Regions from separate parts of the Homo sapiens genome. Here regions 2 and 3 are each linked to region 1. The links are contacts of gene promoters, found by promoter capture Hi-C in blood cells and fetal thymus (Javierre and others, 2016). All regions are on one chromosome and are shown on one strand. The core of a region is centred on a gene start or on the middle of the fragment in contact, and the rest is flanking DNA. Distances in the headings are between cores, read along the strand shown. Region 1 holds the start of NAA25 (N-alpha-acetyltransferase 25, NatB auxiliary subunit). Region 2 overlaps MAPKAPK5 (MAPK activated protein kinase 5). Region 3 has its middle 72 kb from the start of MAPKAPK5-AS1.

What was found. The method cuts DNA at HindIII sites, captures the fragments that hold promoters and counts their contacts. A CHiCAGO score of 5 or more calls a contact.
Region 2: a contact is called between a fragment that was not itself captured here and the fragment with the promoter of NAA25 in region 1, in 1 of 17 cell types (activated CD4 T cells). The highest score is 6.1, in activated CD4 T cells.
Region 3: a fragment that was not itself captured here is called in contact with the fragment with the promoter of NAA25 in region 1 in 3 of 17 cell types (activated CD4 T cells, endothelial precursors and erythroblasts); the score reaches 5.4 in activated CD4 T cells.

Annotation. Positions count from the first base shown.
Region 1 is chr12:112,106,467-112,110,612 of GRCh38, forward strand. It overlaps NAA25 (N-alpha-acetyltransferase 25, NatB auxiliary subunit), which reads right to left and starts at 2,317. Exons shown (of 24, transcript NM_024953.4): 1 at 2,250-2,317. The coding sequence starts at 2,307. RefSeq lists an enhancer at 1-486 and silencers at 2,087-2,166, 2,187-2,266. The HindIII fragment of the contact is 1,965 bases long and covers 1,285-3,249 here.
Region 2 is chr12:111,865,501-111,869,646 of GRCh38, forward strand. It overlaps MAPKAPK5 (MAPK activated protein kinase 5), which reads left to right. Exons shown (of 14, transcript NM_003668.4): 3 at 656-731; 4 at 2,072-2,169; 5 at 3,253-3,361. Among named protein-coding and RNA genes, the nearest start is that of MAPKAPK5-AS1, 25 kb to the left of the region's middle. The HindIII fragment of the contact is 2,227 bases long and covers 589-2,815 here.
Region 3 is chr12:111,912,907-111,917,052 of GRCh38, forward strand. No RefSeq gene overlaps it. Among named protein-coding and RNA genes, the nearest start is that of MAPKAPK5-AS1, 72 kb to the left of the region's middle. The HindIII fragment of the contact is 2,198 bases long and covers 882-3,079 here.

The sequences.
Region 1 (4,146 bases), core at 1,067-3,566:
CTCACCTTCCATCACCCACCTTGTATATATATCTCTGCCCTCTGAAAATATACACTGGAGGGCAAGGGCATGAGAATATGCAGCCCCGGGGAAATAGGAAATCAGAGTCCTTTCTCTGCCACTTACCATCTGTGTGACCTCAGGCAAATCAGTGTCTTCAGCTCAAAGTGAGGTAGTTTCTAGCACAGTGGTTAAGAAGGTGAGCCTGGGCCAGGCACAGTGGCTCACACCTGTAATCCCAGCACTCTGGGAGGCTGAGGCAGGACTGCTTGAGCTCAGGAGTTTTAGACTAGACTGGGCAACATGACGAAACCCATTCTCTACAATATATACAAAAATTAGCCGGCATGGTGGCGGGCACCTGTAATCCCAGCTACTCAGGAGACTGAGGCAGGAGAATCACTTGAACCCAGGAGGCGGAGGCTGGTTGCAGTGCACTGTGATTGTGCAACTGCACTCTAGCCTGGATGACAGAATGAGACTGTCTCCAAAAAAAAAAAAAAAAAAAAAAAAAAGGTGAGCCTGGAGCCAGGCATGGTGGCTCACACCTATAATCCCAGCACTTTGGGAGGCTGAGTAGGTCAAGAGTTCAAGTCCAGCCTGGCTAACATGGTAAACTCCTGTCTCTACTAAAAACATGGAAGTTCGCTGGGCCTGGTGGCGTGCAACTGTAATCTCAGCTACTCAGGAGGCTGAGGCAGGAGAATCGCTTGAACCTGGGAGGCAGAGGGTGCAGTGAACTGAGATTGTGCCACTGTACTCCAACCTGGACGACAGAGTGAGACTCATCTCAAAAGAAAAAAAAGGTGAGCCTGAAACAGTCCACAGGGGTTCAAATTCTAGCTCCAAGAAATACTAACTGAGTGGCCTTAGACAAATTACACAACAACAATAAAGCCTCAGTTTCCTCATCTGTTTTTTTTTTTGTTGTTGTTGTTGTTAAAGGGTTCAGGGGCAGGAAAAAACAGTAGCCACCTCTTGAGAATGGGTGAAGATTATATTAGATAACCCATATAAAAGGCCAAGGCCAGTGACTGTCATAATGAGTCATCTATAAACCTTAGCTATAGGATTGTTGCTAAAATCAAATGAGATGTGAGAGTAAAAAAAAAAATCACACAAATTATGAAATAAAAGCCGGACTAACTGTGGCCAGAAACAAAGTTAACCACCGCCCCCCGCTCCCAAAACGATTCCCACCTTGGAGAGAAGCCTCCAATTTAGTAACATCCACATGAGGTCTATAAATACGATGTCTACTTTTGTAAAAACCACTGACCTTGAAGCTTCCTCACCATTAAGTGAGATAGACCAAGACCATAAAACCATCTAAGAGGAAAGGAAATGCAAAAAGGACCAATCCAATTACACATTTCGGTTATTGGAAAAGGGTTTCTCCCAAACTCAAAATCTGTGATTTTTCACTACCAGGGTAAATGGATGAGATGACATCAAGGTCTTCAAGTCTGCGGGTTGAGGTAAGAGTTGTGGAGAGGGATCTGCTTAGCACAGGGAAGGAAAGCTGCAGAGAAAACCACAGAGAAGCTGCAGAAAGGAGAAGCCCTCCAGTAGCTCTGCATGCCCCTCTGACACGAGCTATCACAATCTCTTCACCGCTATTTTAGGCCCAAGACCCCCTCCCCCCGCCTCCCACGTGTGACCAGAGTAGCTGCTTCTCCACCCAACAGCTCTGGATTGGGAGCCTGGAATCTCGGGCCTGCTCCTGACTCGATCTGGGTGACCTTGCGTCAGCCCCTTCCCCACTCCGGACCTCAGTTTCTCCTATGCACCGAAGCCCACCTAGTCAGACAACCCTCTAGGCCCAATTCCCGTAAATAAAAAAAAATCTCTGGTAGGGAATCTTCCCTCAGGCAGGGCGTCCCACCCTCGTGCCGGAGCCGGCTTCCACCTTCGGGGAGATCTCCGGTCTCCCTAGGAGCGGCGGTAACGATGCAGCCTGCGGGTAGCGCAGGTGTCTGCAGAACCACGCGTCCCACGGGGCCTGCCAAGCAGGCCAGCTCTGCCGACCAGCTGCTGCCCAGACCGCGCCACTACCACCCCAAGGCTGAGGAAGGTTGGGCCGGCGCCTACGCGAGGCCCGCGGCTGCGGCCTAGTGGCCCGCGCGGCCCGCCCCCCTGCGCCTGCCCGGCCCGCGCGCCGGCCCTCAGCACCCCTCCTGGGCTTTCGCCCCAGCCTCGGCAGCCCTCGGCGCGTCGGGCTGGCGAGCGGGCTGGTCCAAGACACTCACCGTAAATGGGCCGGAGGCGCCTGTCGTTAGGGTCCTGCACATGGCCCCGCGTCGCCATGATGACAAGCGCAGAACCACAGTGCGCACGCGCGGGGCAGGACCCCGGGAAAGGGCTATTAAAGGGCCAGCGTCGATCTCGCTTGTCTATCACGATAGTCGCGGTGCTGCGACTGAACGCGCCTGCGCGGAAAGGGAAGCATCCACCCTTGCCGATTGCCACCTCTTTAAACGCTGTTCCTTCACTTAGCAGGTGGGATCAAGCTGGCAAGAGGAGGCAGCTGTTGCTGTTAAAGTCTTCCGAGTCACTGACTGGGAAGTTAGGAGAGGAGGGGAGAAAGCTCTCAAAGTTAGGGTTCGGCTGCTCCTGTTTATCCTATTTATTCTCCGTCCTGAAGAACCAGCTAGACTTGGCTGTGATTAATCGCAGAGGAACCAGAAACTCCCGGGGGAGAGAGACCCAGGGGAAAGTTGGGGAAGCGGGGCTGATCAACAGCAAAAATCTGCCAAAAAAGTTCGAGAGAGCCGGGCGCTGTGGCTCAGCCTGTAATCCCAGCACTTTGGGAGGCCGAGGCGGGCGGATCACAAGGTCAGGAGATCGAGACCATCCTGGCTAACACGGTGAAACCCCATCTCTACTAAAAATACAAAAAAAGTTAGCGGGGCGTAGTGGCGGGCGCCTGTAGTCCCAGCTACTCATGAGGCTGAGGCAGGAGAATGGCGTGAACCCAGGAGGCGGAGCTTGCAGTAAGCCGAGATCGCGCCACTGCACCCCAGCCTGGGCGACAGAGCGAGACTCCATCTCAAAAAAAAAAAAAAAAAAAGAAAAAAGTTCGAGAGCCCTCCACCACCTGTTCCTGGACCAAACTGAGCGTCAGGCTGCTGTTTCTCCTGGTTCAGTAAGGAGATGCAGATGAACTGGAGAGGAAGCGAGTTTTTATTTCTGCAACCAGTTACAGGGAGAAGGCCTGGAAATTATCACCAGACCAACTTAAAATTACAAAGCTTTCCAGAGCTTATATACCTTCTAAGCTATATGTCTACGTGTAAATGTGCATTCATCTAAAGACATAAGTGATTAACTCGCCGGGCGCGGTGGCTCATGCCTGTAATCCCAGCACTTTGGGAGGCCAAGGCGGGCGGATCACGAGGTCAGGAGATCGAGACCACGGTGAAACCCCATCTCTACTAAAAATACAAAAAATTAGCTGGGCGCAGTGACAGGCGCCTGTAGTCCCAGCTACTAGGGAGGCTGAGGCAGGAGAATGGCGTGAACCCGGAAGGCGGAGCTTGCAGTGAGCCGAGATCCCGGCACTGCACTCCAGCCTGGGCGAGGGAGGCTCCGTCTCAAAAAAAAAAAAATAATAATAATAATAATTGATTAACTCACTTTAGTCTATAACTAAGGTTTGAGTCCTGAAGACTTTCCTTTGAAGCCTCAGTAAATTTACTTAATCTAAATGGCAATAGGTGCTGGGGTGATTATCCTTATCTTGCCTCCTACTAAATCACGGAGGTTTGGGGAGTTACTTCAGACCCCCAATAAAATTTGTTTAATCCTAAATGGGTCCTGTTAGGAATTCTTTCGTTATTTTGTCATGCTTTAAGGCCAAGGAAAGGCCTAGGCAAAACTCTTGGTGGGCTTTTGTTACATTCCATCCTTTGTATAAGGGCACTGGCTTTTTTTTTTTAGCTTTTAATATGTAACTTAACCACTCAGTTAGTACTGAAACAGTTGTTATGGAGGCCTGTGTTAGTGAGACCTGGCCTGCCACACACCCTTCTCCCAGGACTCAGCCAACAAAGAAGCATCCTAGATGAATACTTACTCGGTATCTGCCTAGAGTATTTAAATGCAAGGTCTTTACATTTATTCTCTCATTTAATTTTCATAACTGTC
Region 2 (4,146 bases), core at 452-2,951, 240 kb before region 1:
TAAGAGTGACTGAGTCGCATGGTCTTTTTATAGAGTCATTTAAGATGTCGAGACTGGCCAGGCGCGGTGGCTCATGCCTGTTATCCCAGAACTTTGGGAGGCTGAGGCAGGCGGATCATGAGGTCAGGAGATGGAGACCATCCTGGCCAACATGGTGAAACCCCGTCTCTCCTAAAGATACAAAAATTAGCCAGGTGTGGTGGTGGGTGCCTGTAATCCCAGCTACTCGGGAGGCTGAGGCAGGAGAATCACTTGAACCAGGGAGGCAGAGATTGCAGTGAGCTGAGATCATGCCACTGCACTCCAGCCTGGCCACAGAGCGAGATTCTGTCTCAAAAAAAAAAAAAAAAAAAAAAAAGGGTGTCGAGACTGTGGGGCCACTGTGAGAGTCACCTATAGCCAGCTGAGGCCATTATTTTTTCATTGACCCACAGCCCCAAAAGCATGGCTTAGAAGCTGAGGCCTGAGCATTGGCTGCTGGGCAGAGGGGTGAGATGCTTCTTTCCCCCACCTGCTACCCTTGGGGGCAAGTTTGTTCTGGATGCACCTGGCCATATCCTTGATGAGAAGTACAAATCTCAAAGAAAAAGCTTGTTAAATTAATTTTCATTCTAACATATATGATCTCTGATTGATTTTTTTTCTCCAAATCTAGAGTCTGTGTAAAGAAATCTACTCAAGAACGGTTTGCGCTGAAAATTCTTCTTGATCGTCCAAAAGCTAGAAATGAGGTATGCTTTATTGCCTCGACTTAATTAAATAGTTGAAGTGCCTAAGAATTGTTCTTTTGCAAGTAAGGCAGCTTCCTAGAGAGAATACAGTGATGCATAAAAAGTTTTATGTCCAAACTTTACCTCTCTTCCCCATTCATGCTATCTTAGTAAAGTAGTCCTAGATCTGTCAATATCAAAGGCCATTGAGTCATTTCCTTTCAGCCACCTCTTGTTCTTTTAAAATTAATGTGATTCTTGTACCCTCATGTATTCAGATTTACCTCAGTTTTGCTTATTGAAGAAGGTACTTAAAGGTGGAGATAAAATAGCACAAGGAAGAGTCAGGTGAATGGTGTATAAAAGTGATGCTACAGGAGGACTCTGAGGATGTTTCTAGTTTGTTTCTTCTTTTTGAGACAGAGTTTCACTCTTGTTGCCCAGGCTGGAGTGCGATGGCGCAATCTCGGCTTACGGCAACCTCCGCCTCCCGGGTTCAAGTGATTCTCCTGCCTCAGCCTCCCGAATAGCTGGGATTACAGGCATGCGCCACCACGCATCTTGTATTTTTAGTAGAGACAGGGTTTCTCCATGTTGATCAGGTTGGCCTTGAACTCCTGACCTCAGGTGATCCATCCGCCTCGGCCTCTCAAAGTGCTGGGATTACAGGCGTGAGCCACTGTGCCCGGCCTTTAGTTTTTAAAAATATACATTGGGTTTGTTTTTGTTTCTGTTTGAAACCGAGTCTTGCTCTGTCACCCAGGCTGGAATGCAGTGGCACGATCATGGCTCACTGCAGCCTTGACCTCCTTAAGCTCAAGTGATCCTTCTACCTCAGCCTCCTGAGTAGCTGGGACCACAGGCATTTGCCACCATGCCTGGCTAATTTTGTTTGTATTTTTTGTAGACATGGGGTTTTGCATGTTGCCCAGGCTGGTCTCAAACTCCTGGGCTCAAGTGATCCACTTTGGCCTCCCAAAGTGTTGGGATTACAGGTGTGAGCCACTGCCCCTGGTTATACATTGGTTTTAAACTATCTGGATATGGTAATGACATTCTAATAACATGTGCAATGAAGGACTTCTTTTGCATAAAGAAATGCAAATAATTTCTAAAATGAAATGAATTGTTTGCCAGATTTTCATTTGCAAATAAATGGAACAGTAGGAAGTAAATCTGTTGGTGAGTTTTTATTCATGGAAAAAGCATTAAGGAGATAATCTTTGAAAACACTGGGTTTTTACATCATTCTAAGTGATAAAGTTTTTATTGTAATTAGCTTGTACCTAGTATGGTCAGTTTTTGGAGAGAAAATGTTGGTATCCCCTACCTATTGATACATTTCCTCTGTTCTCTTTAAGGTACGTCTGCACATGATGTGTGCCACACACCCAAACATAGTTCAGATTATTGAAGTGTTTGCTAACAGTGTCCAGTTTCCCCATGAGTCCAGCCCTAGGTAAGACTACACAGTGTCATCATCAAATGCCCACATGTAGGCCAATGTGTAGTGGAGCTGTCCTCTCTTTTATGTGCTCCCTCCCCTTCCCTCTCCTTCTTCCTCCTACCCTCGCTTCCTCTGCCCTTCCTTCTCCCCCTCCATCTCCCTTTTTGTAATTTGGAAAATGTCAAGCATTTGTAAAAGCAGACAGAATTATGTAATGAATCCTCAAGTTCTCATGATCCATCCTCAACAGTAATCCTCTTGTGGCCAGTCTAATTTCATCTATGCCCCTACCACTCTTCACATCCCCTGATGATTCTGATTACTTTCTCATTTCAAGAAAGCATTTAATGTAGAATTTAAACAGATTCTATTTCAAATCAGTGAAAGGGGCCCAAATATTATTCTAGGCAGAGTCTTAGAGGCTGATAAAACAAAAAGCCTTTATTATTGCTTAGTCTAACTTTCCTTTTAAAGAAAGAAATCAACATTATTCTTTTAGTTACCAAATGTTTGGCAAGCATATTGGGTGGCATTCTAAGTCTCTTTGTTAAAATTCAAAATTAAATAAGGTATGGTTTTTTTGGGGAAGACTGAGATGTAAACCCATCATCATAGCAGTGCAATAGGCACTAAGGACAGGCATCCCTAAAATATTCTAAGCTTACAAAGGAGAGGAGCTGCTAACTATAGTCTGGGAGGAGAGGTGTCTCACAAAGGCTGTGTGGAAGCTAGGACTTGAAGGAAGGGTAGGAATTTTCCAGATGGAAAAAGAAGATAGAATTTTAAAAACAAATGGGAAATCAAACAAATGGGAAAAAAACGCTTATTTTTCACAACTGTGCTCTGTTGGTGAAAGCATTTGGATGGAAGCTGGAAGCATATATGAAAGAATGGTAGCCAAAAATCACATTAAAATTTTTTTTTTCAGAACATGAGAATTTTTGCTCTTAGTAACTGTGTTACCCTGGACTTAGGAAGTTGTTACACACTTTGTAGATGCAGTATCTTTAGGTCAGCTTCTTAATGTTTCAGGGTTTTTTGTTTCTTTTTCTTTTTTTTTTTTTTAACTTAACAAAATCAAATGCTTTCAAACAGGGCCCGACTCTTAATTGTAATGGAGATGATGGAAGGGGGAGAGCTATTTCACAGAATCAGCCAGCACCGGCACTTTACAGAGAAGCAAGCCAGCCAAGTAACAAAGCAGGCAAGTTAACCCCAGGTACCAATCAAACTGCCACCAAAGTTGGTTAACAAGCACAATTTCATTGGGGGGAAGAAAAGAAAACTTAAAGAAAAGCTCTATTTGACTTCTCATTGCCTGCTTTGTTATGTAATCAGAAAAGATGTTTTGACAGGAGAAATGTGACCCCTTTTATACTTGGGGGTGGGGGTACTGTGTTCTTAATTGGTTGTCAACTGTTTCCTGAGGCTGCTGTGAGATTTCAATAAACTCTGGAAGGAAGGCATCTTAACTGCTTTGTAGACTGCAGTTATCTTTAGGCATGTAGCTACCAAGTACTGTTATTGGACTTTGCAATAAAATGCTGCTGATACCACCTGAAAGATTGTATGGTATAAAAATGTATTTTAAGAGAATTGTACATAAGATGCTTCCTGCATGTGAGCCACCTTTCTGTGATTTCTTCAGATTTAATAATATCCTAAGATCTTTGTAATTCTGAATTATTCCTGGTTATATTCTATGTTGACATCACATTTTATTGCTGTAGAAATGATTTATGTCACAAACAATACTAGGAATCCAGCTGATAATCACTTCTTGCAGAGGTGAAAAGCTAAACCCTCAAGGCTTATCTTCATACCAGGCAAGCAAAGCAAAGAGAATTAGGAAGCACAGCCCAATTGCTTCTTAATAAAAAGTTCTTCCAAGTTTCCCATGAACCTTAAGCAATTTTGGATGCCTCCTTTCTGGTAGGGAGGAACTGATACTTGGATTGCTGAGAAAATGCCATATGGAGAGTTAAAGAA
Region 3 (4,146 bases), core at 731-3,230, 190 kb before region 1:
ATTCTTGAATTTTGTCATTTTTTGTGGGCAAGCTGTGGGAAAGGGGCACAAAAGTATCACTGAAGTATTTTTTCAAAAAAGAAAAAAGGCAGTCTTCCTCTACTAATGAGAATGCAAAATGTTGAACAACTGTAAAATGTTTTCACCCTGCTTTTAGACATAAAGCTTTAAAAAACTGTGAGGTCTTTTATCACTTCCCCATTGTATATGTAATATGGCTCCAGATAATTACTCTGCCACGGGGAGAAAATCTTCCATAACTCTCCCCTATATATATGTATACTCCACCACCTTATCTTGTTATGTCATGGTGGTGGGAGTATTTATACCACAGAAACAGGCAAATGATACAAATCTGGGCTTCAGGCTAGGCGTGGTGGCACACCCCTGTAATCCCAGTATTTTGGGAGGCTGAGGGGCAGATCGCTTGAATCCAGGAGTTCAAGCTCAGCTTCGATAACATGGTAAAATATAATATAAAAATATAAAAATATAAAAATTACCCAGGCATGGTGGCTTGCGCCTGTAGTCTCAGCTACTCGGGAAGCTGAGGTGGGAGAATCAGTGAGCCCAGGCCAAGTCAAGGCTATAGTGAGCTGTGATGGTGCCACTGCACTCCAGCCTGGGTTACAGAGTGTGACCCTGTCTCAAAAAAAAAAAAAAAAAAAAAAAAAGACCCAACAAACTAATCTGACCTCAGTTCATTTGTTTATTTTCCTATTGACTTCATTCTTTAAATTTAAACATTTACTTTTAAGAAATATTTATATGCTAGGAACTAAATGGTTAAAGATAAAAAACACAGATTCTGGATGTAGAGAAATTAGAACCCACATGCACTGCTGGTGTGAATGTAAAATGGTGCAGCCACTTTGAATCAAAGCTTGGTAGTTTCTTAAAATGCTAAATAAATGCAGAGTTATCCTATGACCTAGCACTTCCACTCATATATGCATAATATACCCAAGAAATACAAAAACATATCCATACAAAAACTTGTACATGAGTATTTATAGCATGTTACTTATACATTAAATGAAAACAATCCAAATGTCTATCATTAACTAAAATGTAGTATATCCATATAATGGACCACTATTCAGCAATAAAAAAGGAATGAGCTGAGCTGGGCACAATCGCTCACGCCTGTAATCCCAGCATTTTGATAGGTCAAGGTGGGAGAACTGCTTGAAGCCAGGAGTTCCAGACCAGCCTGGGCAACATAGTGATACTCTGTCTCTAAAAAAAAATTTAAACTTAACAGTTTGTGGTGGCATGCACCTGTGGTCCCAGCTACTCAGGAGGCTGAGGCAGGAGAATCTCCATTTTTTTTTTTTTTTTTTGAGATGGAGTCTTGCTCTGTCGCCTAGGCTGGATGGAGTGCAATGACAAGATCTCAGCTCATTGCAACCTCTGCCTCCCAGGTTCAAGGGATTCTCCTGCCTCAGCCTCCCAAATAGCTGGGATTACAGATGTGCACCACCACGCCCAGCTAATTTTTGTATTTTTAGTAGAGACGGGGTTTCACCATGTTGGCCAGGCTGGTCTGGAACTCCTGAGGTCAAGTGATCCACCTGCCTTGGCCTCCCAAAGTGCTGGGATTACAGGCATGAGCCACTGTGCCCGACCAGGAGAATCTCTTGAGCCCAGGAGTTTGAGGCTGCAGTGAGCCATGACTGCACCACTGCACTCCAGCCTGGGCGACAGAGTGAAACCCCAACAATTTTTTTTTTTTTTTTTGAGACAGTCTTGCTCTGTCACCCAGGCTGGAGTGCAGTGGTATGATCTCAGCTCACTGCAAGCTCCGCCTCCCGGGTTCACAACATTCTCCTGCCTCAGCCTCCCTGGTAGCTGGGACTACAGGTGCCCGCCACCACGTCTGGCTAATTTTGTTTTTGTATTTTTAGTAGAGATGGGGTTTCACCGTGTTAGCCAGGATGGTCTCGATCTCCTGACCTTGTGATCTGCCTGCCTTGGCCTCCCAAAGTGGTAGAATTACAGGCGTGAGCCACCACGCCCGGCCAACCCTAACTCTTAAAAAAAAAAAAAAAAAGGAATGAAATACTAACACCTGCTACAATGTGGATGAACTTTAAGAATATCATGCTAAATTGGCCAGGCACGGTGGCTCATGCCTGTAATCCCAGCACTTTGGGAGGCTGAGGTGGGCAGACCATGAGGTCAGGAGATCGAGACCATCCTGGCTAACATGACGAAACCCCGTCTCTACTAAAAATACAAAAAATTAGCTGGGTGTGGTGGCAGGCGCCTGTAGTCCCAGCTACTCCTGAGGCTGAGGCAGGAGAATGGTGTGAACTCGGGAGGCGGGGCTTGCAGTGAGCTGAGATAGCGCCACTGCACTCCAGCCTGGGTGACAGAGCGAGACTCCGTCTCAAAAAAAAAAAAAAAGATTATGCTAAATTTAAAAAGTGCAAAAACTCTATTTAAGGGTTTCCTGTGTTCCATTGATCTATGTGTGTATCTCATCAGCAATACCGCATACTATTGAAACAGAAAAGAGTGATTTCTCCAAGTTATTATTTTCCAAAATTGTTTTAGCTAGTCTTGTTCCTTTGTCTTTTAGAAAATTTATATTGTAAAATATAAATTTTAAAATTTTCTTGTCTGTATCTACAAAGAATCTTGTTCGGATTGTGATATGAATTGGGTTAAGTCTATGTATCAGTTTGAGGAGAACTGGTATCTTTATTACGTTGTGTCTTCCAATTTGTAAACATAGCAAATCTCTATTTATTTACATCTTTGATTTCTTTCATCAGTGTCTTGTGGTTTTCATTTAATAGGTCCTGTACATATTTTGTTAAATTTACATCTAAATATTTCATTTTTTGAGTGATTTTAAATTGTATTTTTATTTTGATTAAATTGTTCATTGCTAGTATACAGAAATATAATTGATTTTTATATGTTGCTACTGTATCCTGCAAGGGGGAAGATTCAGTCTTTCACCATTAAGTAAAACATTAACTATAGGCTTTTTGTAGATGTTCTTATTACATTGAGGTAGTTTTCACTCTCTACCTAGTTTTCTGGGAGTTTTTATCATGAATGGATGTAAAGCTTAGCCAAATGCTTTTTTCTGCACCAATTGATATGATCATGGGATTTTTCTTATTTAGCCTGCTAACATGGTGAATTCAATGTTTGATTTTCAAACATAAACCAATCCTGCATCCCTGGAAAAAACAAAACTTGGTCATGGTGTATAATTCTTTTTTTCACATTGCTGAATTTTATTTGCTAATATTTGGTTAAATTTTTTTTGCATCTATATTCATGAAGGATATTGGTCTGTAGTTTTCTTTTTTTGTACTGTCTTTCTCTGGTTTTGGTATCAGGGTGATGCTGGCCTCATAAAATGAATCGGATAGGGTTCCCTTTCCTTCTCTTTTATTTTTCTAGAAGAGATTGTGTAGAATTAGTGTTAATTTATTTTTAAAGGTTTGTTATAATTCTCCAGTGAAACCATCTGGGCCTGATTATTTTTCTTGGGAGATGTGAAGTTATAAATTCAATTTTCTTTTTTCTTTCTTTTTTTTTTGAGATGGAGTTTTCCCAGGCTGGAGTGCAATGGCATGATGTCGGCTCACCGCAACCTCCACCTCCTGGGTTCAAGCGATTCTCCTGCCTCAGCCTCCCAAGTAGCTGGGATTACAGGCACGTGCCACCATGCCTGGCTAATTTTGTATTTTTAGTAGAGACAGGGTTTCTCCATGTTGGTCAGGCTGGTCTCAAACTCCCAACCTCAGGTGATCCGCCCGCCTCAGCCTCCCAAAGTGCTGGGATCACAGGCATGAGCTACCGTGCCTGGCGAAATTCAATTTTCTTAATAGCTATAAAGATATTCAACTTATCTAGTTCACATTGGGTGAGATGTAGTAGTTTGTGCTTTTTGAGAAATTGGTCCATTTATCTAAGGTATCAAATGTACGTCTGTAAAGCTGTTTGTAGTGGTTCCTCATTATTCTTTTGGCATCTGTTAGGTCTGTAGTGATATATTATTTCATTCTTGATTGCCATATTGTTTTAAAACAAGAATTTAGGCTGGGCCCAGTGGCTCACGCCTGTAATCCCAGCACTTTGGGAGGCTGAGGCGGGCGGATCATGAGATCAGGAGATTGAGAA